Linked DNA regions of Homo sapiens: region 1 is linked to region 2. The links are contacts of gene promoters, found by promoter capture Hi-C in human tissues and cell types (Jung and others, 2019). All regions are on one chromosome and are shown on one strand. Each heading gives the region's core, a stretch centred on a gene start or on the middle of the fragment in contact. The rest is flanking DNA. Distances are from core to core; before and after follow the strand shown.

Evidence for each region. The method cuts DNA at HindIII sites, captures the fragments that hold promoters and counts their contacts. A contact is called where the count stands out against the background at its distance.
Region 1: a contact is called between a fragment that was not itself captured here and the fragment with the promoter of CLEC19A in region 2, in 1 of the 25 tissues and cell types used here (heart left ventricle).

The regions. Positions count from the first base shown.
Region 1 is chr16:19,492,596-19,499,812 of GRCh38, forward strand. TMC5 (transmembrane channel like 5) reads left to right here. Exons shown (of 22, transcript NM_001261841.2): 20 at 1,667-1,771; 21 at 4,526-4,568; 22 at 5,325-6,518. The coding sequence ends at 5,371. It also overlaps the pseudogene RNU4-46P. Among named protein-coding and RNA genes, the nearest start is that of TMC5-AS1, 8.3 kb to the left of the region's middle. RefSeq lists a silencer at 3,915-4,126. The HindIII fragment of the contact is 8,195 bases long and covers 1-5,445 here.
Region 2 is chr16:19,279,793-19,287,217 of GRCh38, forward strand. CLEC19A (C-type lectin domain containing 19A) reads left to right here and starts at 5,939. Exons shown (of 5, transcript NM_001256720.2): 1 at 5,939-6,147. The coding sequence starts at 6,060. The HindIII fragment of the contact is 9,003 bases long and covers 4,641-7,425 here.

The DNA.
Region 1 (7,217 bases), core at 98-2,597, 210 kb after region 2:
CCACCATGCCCAGCTAATTTTTGAATTTTTAGTGGAGACAGGGTTTCACCATGTTGGCCAGGCTGGTCTCGAACTGCTGACCTCAGGTGATCCACCTGCCTCCCAAAGTGCTGGGATTACAGCCATCACACCCAGCCTTATTTTATTTTTTTAGAGGTGGGGGTCTTGCTATGTTGCCCTGGCTGGATTCAAATTCCTGGGCTCCTGCCTCAGCCTCCGGAGTAGCTGAGATTACAGGCAGGTGCCACTCCATCTGGCTCCCTGGATTATTTTAAAGCAAATCTTAGGCTTTATATTATTTTTTATTTATTAAAACTTAGATATATATATATATATATCTCTCTATAAGATAAATACTTTTATTTCATTTATTTATTTATTTTGAGACAGAGTTTCACTCTTGTTGCCCAGGTTGGAGTGCAGTGGAGCAATCTTGGCTCACTGCAACCTCCGCCTCCCGGGTTCAAGCAATTCTTCTGCCTCAGCTTCCCGCATAGCTGGAATTACAGGCGCCTGCCACCACACCCGGCTAATTTTGTATTTTTAGTAGAGATGGGGTTTCTCCATGTTGGTCAGGCTGGTCTCAAACTTCCGACCTCAGGTGATCCGCCCGCCTCGGCCTCCCAAAGTGCTAAGATTACAGGTGTGAGCCATCGCCCCCAGCTGAGATAAAGACTTTTAAAAATAACTACAATATCATCATCACACTTAAAAAACTTAACAATAATTTATTATTATCATCTTATATCCAATGTTTACATTTCCCCAACTGTCCCCTTAAGTGTCTTTTTATACTAGAACTGCACAAATCAGGATCTGAAAAGGGGGTACATGTTGCATTTGGTTAATGTCTCTCTCTCTCTCTCTCTCTTTTTTTTTTTTTGAGACAGAATCTCACTGTGTCTCCCAGGCTGGAACGCAGTGGCATGATTTTGGCTCACTGCAACTTCTGCCTCCTGGGTTCAAGTGATTCTCCTGCCTCAGCCTCCTGAGTAGCTGGGATTACAGGTGTGTGCCACCACGCCCAGCTAATTTTTGTATTTTTAGTAGAGACGGGGTTTCACCATGTTGACTAGGCTGGTCTCAAACTCCTGACCTCAAGTGATCCACCTGCCTTGGCCTCCCAAAGTGCTGGGATTACAGGCGTGAGCCACTGCGCCCAGCCAATATGCCTAACTTTCTTTTACTCTATAACCATTTACCACTTCCCCTCCCCACTTCCTCTTTTCTTTTTATTGTTAAAGAATGCAGGTCATCTGTTTCATATTTTCCATATCCTACATATATCTTTTTTTTTTGTTTTGACATGGAGTCTTGCTCTGGGGCACGTGCCTATGGGGGATACTGGAAACCATTTTTCCTGGGTATTGAGACGTGGCATGTAAGTTGCTTCCAGCAGCCGACTTCTGGAGGCTACTTTCTCAAGCCTGTTAGGGGAATTGCTTTAGAGGAGAATATTACAGTGCAGGAAGGCTCTGGGGGATAATTTGGTTTTACTGTGAAATGTTTCTTTTCTTTCACCAAAAGATGGCAGTAACCTCCATCCAACTTCTAGGATCCTAGCTGCCTGAAAACCGACGTTCTTCCCATCAATTGCTTTCTCAATTCCATACCATCATTCATTCATATTTTTGTTTCTTTCTGGTTTTGTTTTCCTTCTTGGTAGGAGGGCAAAGATAAAATGTTCCTGATAGAAAAATTGATCAAGCTGCAGGATATGGAGAAGAAAGCAAACCCCAGCTCACTTGTTCTGGAAAGGAGAGAGGTGGAGGTGAGTCTGGAGGCTGCCTTGGGGACCCCTGGGACACGAGCTTGCCTCCATGTAAAAAGCGCGTCAGAGAACTACAGACCAAGCTCTTGGGATCATGGAAGGGCCCTTCACTCTCTGTCTTAAGTATTTCTGTGGTTTTTACTTAAAAAGTAATATTCATGGCCAGGTGCAGTGGCTCACGCCTGTAATCCCAGCACTTTGGGAGGCCTACGCGGGTGGATCAAGAGGTCAGGAGTTTGAGACCAGCCTGGCCAATATGGTGAAACCCTGTCTCTACTAAAAATACAAAAGTTAGCTGGGTGTGGTGGCACGCACCTGTAGCCCCAGCTACTTGGGAGGCTGAGGCAGAAGAATTGCTTGAACCCAGGAGGTGGAGGTTGCGGTGAGCCAAAATCATGCCACTGCACTCCAGCCTAGGTGACAGAGTGGCACTCTGTCTCAAAAAAAAGTAATATTCATTTTTTCAGCACTTTTCATGCCTGTACTTTTTCTAGGTGCTGGGGTTACGGTGAACAAAACAAAGCCCCCGCCCTCATGGAACTTGCACGCTTGTTTTTCACAACCCCGATAATACAGAAGTAGATCCCACTGAGATGAAAAGGGCCCTGAAATCTCATCTCACTATGAATACTTCAGTGTCTATTCTTTTTTTTTTTTTTTTTTTTTGAGACGGAGTCTCGCTCTGTCGCCCAGGCTGGAGTGCAGTGGCGGGATCTCGGCGCACTGCAAGCTCCGCCTCCCGGGTTCACGCCATTCTCCTGCCTCAGCCTCCCAAGTAGCTGGGACTACAGGCGCCCGCCACTACGCCCGGCTAATTTTTTGTATTTTTAGTAGAGACGGGGTTTCACCGTTTTAGCCGGGATGGTCTCGATCTCCTGACCTCGTGATCCGCCCGCCTCGGCCTCCCAAAGTGCTGGGATTACAGGCGTGAGCCACCGCGCCCGGCCTACTTCAGTGTCTATTCTTGCAAATCTATTTCCCTAGGCATCTGCAAACATACCTGTATCTACCAACACTTTAATTTACTTGTTTATTACAAAAGTGAGGCTATATTATACAAATAGTATCATAACTTCCCTCCCCCGCAGCCCACCACTAAATACTATATCTTGAACGATGTTTAATTCTGTACATATTTGGATATTTGGGTTGTTTCTATGTTTTTAAATACTTAAAACAGTAGGTAATGAAACATTTTGTTACAATTATTTTTTGTGCGTTTATAATCGCAGCTACTCAGGAGGCTGAGGTGGGAGGGGAGGACTGCTTGAGGCCAGGAGTTTAAGACCAACATAGCGAGACCCCATCCCTTAAAAAATTTTAATAATTAGGCACGGTGGCATGCAACTGTAGCCTCAGCTACTCAGGAAGCTGAGGTGAGAGGACTGCTCAAACCCAGGAGTTTGAGGCTACAGTGAGCTATGATCCCATCACCGCACTCCAGCTTGGGAGACAGAACAAGACCCTCTCTCTAAAAAAAATTACCCTGGGCACAGTGGCTCCCTCCTGTGATCCCCAGCACTTTGGGAGGCCGAGGCGGGCTTATCACTTGAGGTCAGGGGTTCGAGACCAGCCCAGCAAACATGGTGAAACCCATCTCTAGTAAAAATATAAAAAACAAAAACAAACAAACAAGAAAACTTAGCTGGGTGTTGTGGTGCACATCTGTAATCCCAGCTACTTGGGAGGCTGAAGCACAGGAAATCACTTGGACCCAGGAGGTGGAGATTGCAGTGAGCCAAGGTCACACCATTGCACTCCAGCCTGGGCAACAGTGCAAGACTCCGTGTCAAAAAAAAAAAAAAATTAAAAAGTTATTTTTTGTGAATATTTCTGCCACAAAGCACGTACATGACAATGTTAATAGATATTGCTATATCATTCCCTTAAAAAGATTTAATCAATTTCATTCTTACCAAGAGAATATAAAGATACATGAAACCCTGCTCTAATTCCAAAGCCTTGCTTGCTTCCTGAGTGTCCTGAAAATACAGATGAACAGTAAATCCACCTTAACGCAAATACCACTTATGTTGGAAATTGTGATCTTGACAGAAGTGACTGACAAGTAATTTACCATCTGTGCAAATTTATACTGTCAGCACAATTTAGGTAAGGGATCTAGAGGCCTAAAGGTAGATTCTCTGAAGGTGAGGACCACGTCTGTGCACTTGTCACCCCACGTCCTAATTTATTACCTGGCATAATATGAATGCTCAGTGAATATCTGTGGAACGGCCAGGTGCGGTGGCTCACGCCTGTAATCCCAGCACTTTGGGAGGCCGAGGTGGACAGATCACTTGAGGTCAGGAGTTTGAGACCGGCCTGACCAACATGGTGAAACCCTGTCTCTACTAAAAATAAAAAAAAAAAATTAGCTGGGCGTGGTGGCAGGCACCTATAATCCCAGCTACTCCAGAGGCTGAGGCGGGAAAATCGCTGGAACCCGAGAGGCGGAGGTTGCAGTGAGCCGAGATCATGCCATTCCACTCCAGTCTAGGAGATAAAGCAAGACTCTGTCAAAAAAAAAAAAAAAAAAAAAAAAAAGAGTATCTGTGGAATGAATGAATGGAATCACTCTCCCTAAAAAACAAAACATGTTCAATATTTCTATGGCGGAGACTTGGCCTTAATCTCTCATCCCTTAACTTCTATAAAATGGTGAGGGGCTCACAAATTGTGCCAAATATGTGACAAGACCCAGAATCTGCATTCTTCCTCCGTGACGTGGCTGCTTGTTTTTTTCTTTTTCAGCAACAAGGCTTTTTGCATTTGGGGGAACATGATGGCAGTCTTGGTGAGTAATTAAACTGGGACAGAATAAGACACTAATTTATTTCTGGTGAAATATCCTAAGACAAGTGTAAGAATTGCTCATGTGTCCATTACTTTTTCAGTTGCAAATTGGATCCAAACTGGCTTAAACAAAATTCCAAGAATAATTCTTGCTTTAGGCCTTGCCTAACGCAGGAACTCACAGTGTCACCAGAACCCGGTTTCTTTCAGTTCCGTTCTTACCCATGTTAGTTCCTTTTGCAATAGACTCTGCCTAATAAGTGCAAGACAGCTTTATCAACTTCTTATATCTTCTCAGAGTCAGTCTGGTGGGAAAGACTGAGGGACCCAGGATTCTCACGGTGTTTCATAGGATCTGACTGGGTGATGTCCCCGTCTATGAACCAATTGTTGTGGGTGCAAAAATGTGGCAGTTCCCTTGATCACATGATTTCATCTGTAGATGCAGGTGGTGCAACCATGAAGACCATAGGGACCAAGAGTAGGGAAGGGTGACTTCCTAAAGAAAATCTGGGGCTGATGCCAGGAGAGCGAATTCTGGGCAGGAAACAAACAAGCAAACCCATTTATTTTTGGGGGATAGCATTTACTGATGACTTCCAGTGATGGGAGTTCAAGGGAAGGATTATAGAAACTAAAAGGAAGAGGCAAAGAAGGCATGAGAAGCTATGGAATCTTGAAGGCAAGCTGGTCTTTCCCTTGTAGAGATGGGGCAGAGTGTGCCTGCGTTAACTTCTCTTTCCTGTGTCAAACCTAGACTTGCGATCTAGAAGATCAGTTCAAGAAGGTAATCCAAGGGCCTGATGACTCTTTTGGTAACCAGACACCAATCAAATAAGGGGAGGAGACGAAAATGGAATGATTTCTTCCATGCCACCTGTGCCTTTAGGAACTGCCCAGAAGAAAATCCAAGGCTTTAGCCAGGAGCGGAAACTGACTACCATGTAATTATCAAAGTAAAATTGGGCATTCCATGCTATTTTTAATACCTGGATTGCTGATTTTTCAAGACAAAATACTTGGGGTTTTCCAATAAAGATTGTTGTAATATTGAAATGAGCCTACAAAAACCTAGGAAGAGATAACTAGGGAATAATGTATATTATCTTCAAGAAGTGTGTGCAGGAATGATTGGTTCTTAGAAATCTCTCCTGCCAGACTTCCCAGACCTGGCAAAGGTTTAGAAACTGTTGCTAAGAAAAGTGGTCCATCCTGAATAAACATGTAATACTCCAGCAGGGATATGAAGCCTCTGAATTGTAGAACCTGCATTTATTTGTGACTTTGAACTAAAGACATCCCCCATGTCCCAAAGGTGGAATACAACCAGAGGTCTCATCTCTGAACTTTCTTGCGTACTGATTACATGAGTCTTTGGAGTCGGGGATGGAGGAGGTTCTGCCCCTGTGAGGTGTTATACATGACCATCAAAGTCCTACGTCAAGCTAGCTTTGCAGTGGCAGTACCGTAGCCAATGAGATTTATCCGAGACGCGATTATTGCTAATTGGAAATTTTCCCAATACCCCACCGTGATGACTTGAAATATAATCAGCGCTGGCAATTTTTGACAGTCTCTACGGAGACTGAATAAGAAAAAAGAAAAGAAAAGAAATTAGCTGGGTGCGATGGCTTATGCCTGTAATCCCGGCACTTTGGGAGGCTGAGGCAAGCGGATCACTTAATGTCAGGAGTTCAAGACCAGCCTGGCCAACATGGTGAAACCCCGTCTCTACTAAAAATAAAAAAACTAGCTGGGCGTGGTGGTACATGCCTATAATCCCAGCTACTCGGGAGGCTGAGGCAGGAGAATTGCTTGAACCTGGGAGGCAGAGGTTGCAGTGAGGCGAGATTGTACCACTGCATTCCAGCCTGGGCAACAGTGAGACTCTGCCTCAAAAAAATAAATAAATAAATAAATAAAGTAAATTAAAAGTCTTATTCAAACCAAATATGAAACTGGTGGTGATGTGTGGAATGTGTGTGTGTGTGCACATATGTAATGAATACGTGTGTGTATAATGTTTTTGCAGGTTTGCCAAATGATTCACAAGCCACGTGGCTGTTCTTAACACTGAAAGGTCCAGCAGAAAGGTGCAGTTACTCAGGAGAGAGGAGCCTCCTCTTAAGTAATCACTCGCATAAAACCTAATTGGAACTGAATTTAGAAAGCAGTTAAGATACATTCGAAACACAAGCACCCAACCAGTGCTGTCATTTATTCCCTTTTTTTTTTATTTTTAAGAGATAAGGCTGGGCTGTGTTGCCAGCTTTGACTCAAACTCCTAGGTCAAGCAGTCCTCCCACTTCAGCCTGCCAAGTAGCTGGGACTACAGGCACACGCCACTGCACTTGACCACGCACTTTTTCATTCACTTATTTTTTTCATTAATTCACTTCATCGGAGGAATTAATTTCTTTTGGTGTCATCTTTGGTAACAGTTGTATGTAGTGTTCATCCATCCATTCATTCAACAAATATGGACCAAATAGTGGTGAGCAAGATGGTGAACAATTCATGGTGCTGCCTGTCTAGCAGGTTTAGACATGAATTTAATTCTTAAGCAATAATTAATTACAGTTGTAGTAGATGCTCTGAAGAAGCACAGGGACTAAGGGAGACTTGTCTGTGGGGTCAGTGCAGGCAACCC
Region 2 (7,425 bases), core at 4,689-7,188:
GCCACCACACACGGCTAATTTCTTGTGTTTTCAGTAGAGATGGGGTTTCACTGTGTTAGCCAGGATGGTCTCCATCTCCTGACCTTGTGATCCACCCACCTTGGCCTTGCAAAGTGCTGGGATTACAGGTGTGAGCCACCTTGCCAGGCCAATTTTTGTATTTTTTAGTAGAGATGGGGTTTCACCATGTTGGCCACGCTGGTCTCAAACTCCTGACCTTCAGTGATCCACCCCGCTCAGCCTCCCAAAGTGCTGGGATTACAGGCGTGAACCACCATGCCCGTCCAAGACCCTGTCTCTTAAAAAAAAAAAAATAGAAGTTCAGTGTCCCAGCCTCCTCAGAATCCTCCCACACATCCCTCCCAACTTACAGGGCCCATTCTTTCCCAATCAATACCCTCACCTTAACGGTAGACACCCTGAGGGGCTGAGTTTACCTTTCATTGTAAGTCAGCCAATTGGAGGATGAGGGCTTGTGTTTGATTTTCAGCACTTTCAACCCTATGACCATACAGGAGAGAAGATTCTGCTTCAGGGCACACTTAGAAGCTTCCAGGCTAATTGTGTGCATCTAGAGCTGAGAAATTGAGTCCCTGTCCTCATTCTTTTCTTTCATCACTTTGTCTACCGATGTTAGGAGCAACTAACCCACATCATTCTATGCCTTGGCTTTCTACAGATGCTCAAAAGTATCATGCACAGGGTCACTAAGTTCCTTGCTTCTTCTTAGCAGTGTACTAGGAGTATCAAGTGCATTTATTTTGTGTATCTCTATTAACAGTTCATGCCATGGACTATCAATGCTCTCCGTACTATGAGAAGTAGAATCTTTAGCATTTTGGGGTTTAATCAGATTACAGAGCCAATTCCAGAAACCCCAAAACCAAGTAAGGAACTTCATTCTTAAAATTGTTTCTCTAAATGGTTGGGCGCAGTGGCATAGGCCTGTAATCCCAGCACTTTGGGAGGCCGAGGCGGGCAGATCATGAGATCGGGAGTTTGAGACCAGCCTGCCCAGCATGGTGAGACCCCCATCTCTACTAAAAATACAAAAAAAAAATCAGCCGGGCATGGTGGCGGGCGCCTGTAGTCCCAGCTACTCGGGAGGCTGCGGCAGGAGAATCGCTTGAACCTGGGAGGCAGAGGTTGCAGTGAGCCGAGATTGCGCCATTGCACTCCAGCCTGGGCAACAGAACAAGACTCCATCTAAAAAAAAAAAAATTGTTTCTCTAGAACTACCTCCTGGTACCAAAATCTGTATTAGGATTCTCCAGAGAGACAGCCAGTAGGATAGATGGAAGGGGATTTATTGAGGAGGAGTTGGCAAACACAGTCACAGAGGTGAAGTCTCAGGATAGGCCAACTACAAGCTAGAAAACCAGAGAAGCTGGAGTGTGGCTCAAAGCTGGGAGTGTGGCTCAGTCCAAGTCCAAAGCCTCATAACCAGGGAAGCCAGCAGAGCAGCCTCCAGTCAGACTCAAGAGACCCCAAAGGCCACTGGTGCAATCCCTAGAATCCTAAAGCTGAACCTGGAATCCAATGTCCAAAGGCAAAAAGAGAAAAAGTGTCCTACTCTGGAAGGAAGAGGGAGAGCAGAGAGATGACCAGTCCCCCTCCTTCTGACCATTTTTTCCAGTTGGCTCCCTGCCAGTTGTTTGGTGTCCTCCCACACTGAGAGCAAGTCTCCCTCTCTCAGTCCACAAACTCCCATGTCAATCTCCTCTGGCAATGCCCTCCCAGACACATTCAGAAACAACGCTACCTCCGGGATTGAGGCATCCCTCAATCCAGTCAAGTTGACACCTAAAATCAACCATCACATCAACTTGATACTTTCCTATACAGTATTTTTGAAGGTTCTAAAGTGATTGAAAGGTAGCTAACATATATGGAATGCTTATCATGCGACAAACATTTTTCTAACCACTTGTATGAGGGAAGTATTGATTTCTTCCCATTTTGCAGTTGAGAAAACTGAGGATTAGAGGGGTTAAGTAATCAGCATATAATCACACAGCAACAGGTCTGGAGTCTGAACAACAATGCATCTGAATTGAAAGCCATGAAATGAACTGGCATCTATTGCCTCTTTTATAATTGTGGTGAAGGGGTAAGGGACTTTGTTTAATTGATAAACAACATTTTTTAAAAGCTAATAAATTAAGGGAGATAGATGATTGACAGATAAATAGATGATAGAGATTAGATAGACAGACAGACAGAGGGAGAGAGATAAAAGAGAGAGAGAGGGAGAATCTTAATGGAACTTCAAGATGCCATGAACACAGTGTATGTATTGGGAGAGAGAAAAGATAGGCCACCACTCAATAAATACAACTTTAAGAAGCCAGAAAATACATACGGTGTAACAAAGAGACGCCTACAACCTCCAAATGACAGCAAAGATCATATTTGTTAAGTGAAGAAATTGTTTACTTTCTGGCCAGAAAGCTTGAGGTCTAGAACAGGGATTGGCAGGTGACAGCCCGTGGGCCAAATCTGGCCCCTTGCCTATTTTTGTAAATAAAGTTTTATTGGCACACTGCCTGGTCCAGTCCTGTATTTCTGGCAGAGTTGAGTAGTTGTGACAGAGGCTGTGTAGCCCACAAGTCCTAAAATATTTACTGTCTACCTCTTTTTTTTTTTTTTTGACAGAGTCTCACTCTGTCACCCAGACTAAAGTGCAGACACCATCTTGGCTCACTGCAGCCTCAAGCTCCTGGGCCCAAGCGAACCCCCTGCCTCAGCCTCCCAAGTAGCTGGGACTACAGGTGTGCACCACCACACCTGGCTAAGACTTTATTTTTTAAGTAGAGATGGGGTCTCACCATGTTGCCCAGGATGGCCTCAAACTCCTGGCCTCAAGCAATCCTCCCACCTCAGCATCCCAAAGTGCTAGAATATAAGCATAAGCCACTGTGCCTGGCCTGTCTGGTTCTTTATAGAAAAAGTTCCCTACCCTGTCCAGAGCAGGGTTTCATAAACTTTAATATACACACAACCCACCTGGGACGCAGAATTGATTCAGCAGGTCTTGGGGGGCCTGAGATTCTGCATTTCTAATGTGCTACCAGGAGATCCCCGTGCTGCTGGCCCATTGACCATACTTGTGTTTGAGCAAGTAACAAATATCTTGTGTGTCTCCATTCAGAGAGGGTACATGAACTGATTTATAAAAACCTTCAGGCATCAAAATACAACACAGATAATTTAGGAGGTTTATTTGCCAAATCAAAGGATTCTCCACTTTTTAGAAGGATTTCTAGTGGCCTGCTTTGGACCACTCTTCTCCTTCCCACTTAATGTGTCCACACCCAGAGAGACATTGCTATGGTTTGAATGTCTGTCCCCTCCAAAACTCAAGTTGAAATTTAATTGTCATTGTGATGATATTGGGAGGCGGGACTGGTACTGAGTAATCAATGGGCTTGCTACCCAATGTGCCCAGAGGCCAATATCATGGCACTGGCTTTTAAGAAGAGAAAAGCTTTATTGCTAGTCAGCTGGCAAGGAGACAGGAGGAAAGGCTCAAATCTGTCTCCCCACGCTAGGGTTTGGGTCAGGTTTTATAAGCATAGGGTAATGAGGCATGATCTGATTGGATCTTGCAATGAGATGATGTGGGGAGGCATGACCTGATTGGATCCTGCCATGGGGTAACGTCAGAGCTCAATCCGATTGGATTCTGGATCCTGCCATGTAGTGTCTGCTTCTGAATTCAGTCCCTGCTCCTCAGTCTGAGCACTTAGGTTCCCCCTGTGGTTGCACACTTGGTTCATCTGGGCATGCTCAGGTTACATGACCTTCAATCTGAGGGTCCATGGCAAATGAAAAACAACTCACAACTTTGTTACGTAAAAGTTGAACTAGACTGGTCCGATGAGGTTACAGGACTTTTAAGAGGTGTCTGGGTTATAAGAGCTCTTCCCTCATACATGGATCAAAGATGTTATCACAAGAGTAGCTCAGGTATGGCAGGAGTGGGTTCATCCCCTCTTTAAAAAGCTCTGTCTCTCTCTCTCTGTGACTCATCTCTCTTTTACCCTCTCACTATCCACCATATGATGACTCAGCAAGAAAGCCCTCACCAGATGCCAACACCTTGATCTTGGCCTTCCCTGTCTCTAGAACTGTGAACCAATAAATTCTGTTCATTATAAATTACCAGTCTCAGGTGTTCTAGTATAGCAGCACAAAACAGACTAAGATAGACACTTTTAAATTCCAAGCAGCACCCAGGAACATGACAGCAGGAGCCCCCAAATTTCAGCTTGCAAGATGATAGGGAGTAGGGAGAAAATATCCAAACTTTCTTCCACATTTATATCTTTTATCAACCTTTAATAATGTCCAATGTGGGTGTGTGTGTTTTATAACAGAAATAATATATTAGTACAGTGAGTCGTACCTGCACATCACTTATAAACATGTAATAAATATATCCCATTTATAAATAAGTAAGTGTGCATGCTCTGGGATATGCACCAGTACACTAGTTTTGAGGCAACAGATCTACCCGAGGAGGCATCCTGTAGGTTGAAGCTGAGCCTGAGCTGTGCTCATATTCTGAGTCAGACCTTGGCAGACTTTCAGCTCCAGTGCCAGCAGGCAAGGCAAGCTGTGTGGGCACAAGTTAAGTTATTTCTCACAAGCACAGCAGCAGGTGTTCCAGAAAGACTTGGAAGCCAAACAGACACATTCCAGTCCCTGTGAGTGCCAGCCACATGAGGTGTCAGGGCACCTGGCAGAGCATTTCTGGAGAGGAATAAGGGAGTGCAGGGGCAGGGGATGTGGGTGATGCCAAGGAAAGCCTTGCACTAGATCAATGACAACAATAGCAAATGTTGCTGTCATTTATTGAGCACCTACTACTTGCCAGCATCTATGCCAAGTTTTAGAAACAAATTACTTCATTTAATCCTTGTGAGGTAGGTACTCTACTTATCCCCCATTTTACAGAGGAGGCAACTGAGGTTCAGAGAGGCAAAGTGACTTGTCTAAGGACACAGAAAGTGGGGGAGAAAGACTGTGGTTTTTAGAAATATTGATTCTCCAAAAGAGCGATGAGATCCCAATGAAAACACTAGGGGTTTTTAAACATTGAATTCTGAGCAAGCCACACAGTAGAGCTATGCACTAGTGATGACACTTGCACCTCTTTGTGGAGCACTTATTCTGTGCAACACTCTGTTGAATCTTCTACAGATGCCTCCTTTAACCCCCGGAGGAACCCTGAGAGACCCTGAGAGGTGAAGGGAGAGGAAAGGAGGCTGACTCACACAGGCTTCCTGGTGCTTCCTCAGCGGTGGATGCTGTCAGGATCAGACCCATGGGGTGGAGACCTTGGTGAACCGAAGCTCAAAGAGCCTGGCTGAAAGAGATGCTCTTTCTCAGCTCCATGCAATTGTTGCCCTGTAGAAATGAGGGCTATGTTTCGTTAGGTCTTCCGATTTTCCAATAGAAGGCAGAAATCCGGACTTATACCTAGCATCTCTTGGTTTTATACCTTAACAAATTTTTTAGAATTTAAAACTCTGCAGACCAAACAAATGACATCCATGGCCCAGGAGACCTCTGCGCTCAATGCTTACTTGCAGTAATTTTACCTTCCAGTACATATCTACTCTGAGGGAGGTGAGATGCTTTGTCTCCTGTGACAGGCTGGAATGTGAGTTTCGTTACCATCCCATTTTACAGAGGGGGAAACTGAGTCTCAGAGAAGTGCACACCCAAGGCCACAGCGTGACTCAGAGACAAGACTGAGAGCTAAATTTTGTCTTGGTTCAGAGGCAAGCTTGGGAGCTAAAATGTCTCTTGGTTCTTTGAGGGGGGCTGGCCTAGGCTGCTTTGCTTTCAGCTGTCATTCTGAGCTGTCTCCAACAGTGTGAAGAGGAGGGAGGAGAAAAGGAAGAAAAGAGGAGGGGACTGGAGTCCATCCAGTCTGTCCCAGCTCCTGCCAGGCTCCATCTGACCCTAGGAGAGCAATCCTGGACCCAAGCTCCAGCCAAAAAGCCTCTCTCCTCCACTCAGGCTGGGAGGTTGCTTTCTAGGAGCTCAGGATGCAAAGGTGGACACTGTGGGCTGCAGCCTTCCTGACCCTCCACTCTGCACAGGCCTTTCCACAAACAGACATCAGTATCAGTCCAGGTAAGTGCAGGGACCAGGGCTGGGAGCAGGTGGAGAGGAGTACACTCTCAGGAACTTATTCTATCGGTGAGGCCTGGCAGCTTCTGTTGGGGGGTTGGGGTGGCCTGACCCGAGTCTCCTGACAGCTTTCCCCCTACCAGCTTTGTCATGGGCACTCTTCTAGGCCCAGACACAAAAAGTCCTGGGTTTGAATCCCAGTTTTGCAGTTTACAAGCTGTGTGACATAGAGGAAGTTTCTTGATCTCTCTGAGCCTCAGCTTCTTCTAGAAAGTTGGGTCGCAATGGCATTCTCTTTGGGCTACTGTGCAAGGCAGATAAGATAACATGAGGAAAGTGCTTTGCACAGTGTCTGGCACTACAGGAAGATCTGAACATGGTAGTTTTGTGAGGGATTTGGCATCTGGGCCCCAACCCCACCTTGGCTGTGACAGCCTTCCCAGGGAGCTTTCAGAGCTGCTGCAGTGCCACCAGAGGTTAGGTGCGCAGGGAGGGAGACTTGTCCCTCTAATGGCCTCCCTGGAGGCCTGGCCCAGCAACCCCCAGCCTTGTGGGGCATCCCCAGGGATGAGAACCTGTCAGCCTTGGGCATGTGGCCTCCCAGTGTCCCATATGGAGGGTGAGGGTCTTCAAATGAGCTCAACTTCTTCCACTTTGCAATAGGAAGGCTGGGTTACTGATTCTGGGGGACCCTCATCTGGATGAGAAGAGTTCTGAATCCTATAATTTGGTGGCCAAGAGTCTTGACTGTCACCTCTACCAGGTTCTTTCCAGGCTTGTTTATGTTCATATATGGATTTATTTATCATAGCAGTGGCAGAGATATCATTTTTAAATCCCCGTTCAAGTAAAACTAATAATGAAATACCTAGATGGAGATTCTCATAAGGCCAAATTATTGGGTTGTGATAGTGTTAGAGTGACTTTAAACAGAGGGTTGATAGGGTTGTCAGATAAAATACCAATAAATAAATATTAATAAATTATTTCTTAGTGTAAGCATGCCCCAAATATTACATGGGACGTATTTATACTAAAAATTATCTGTTTGTTTACCTGAAATCAAATTTAACTAGGTATCCTTCTTTTTTTTTTTTTTTTTTGTTAATCTAGCATCCCTAGTGGTAACAATAAGGGATAGTCTTAGCTCATTTGGGCAAGGGGTTTCAGTTCTGTCCTAAACTCTCTGAGTGTATTCATCAGCTCAGGCTGCGAATATCACAGACTGGGGAGCTTAAGCAACAAACATTTATTTCTCACAGTTCTGGAGGCTGGGAAGTT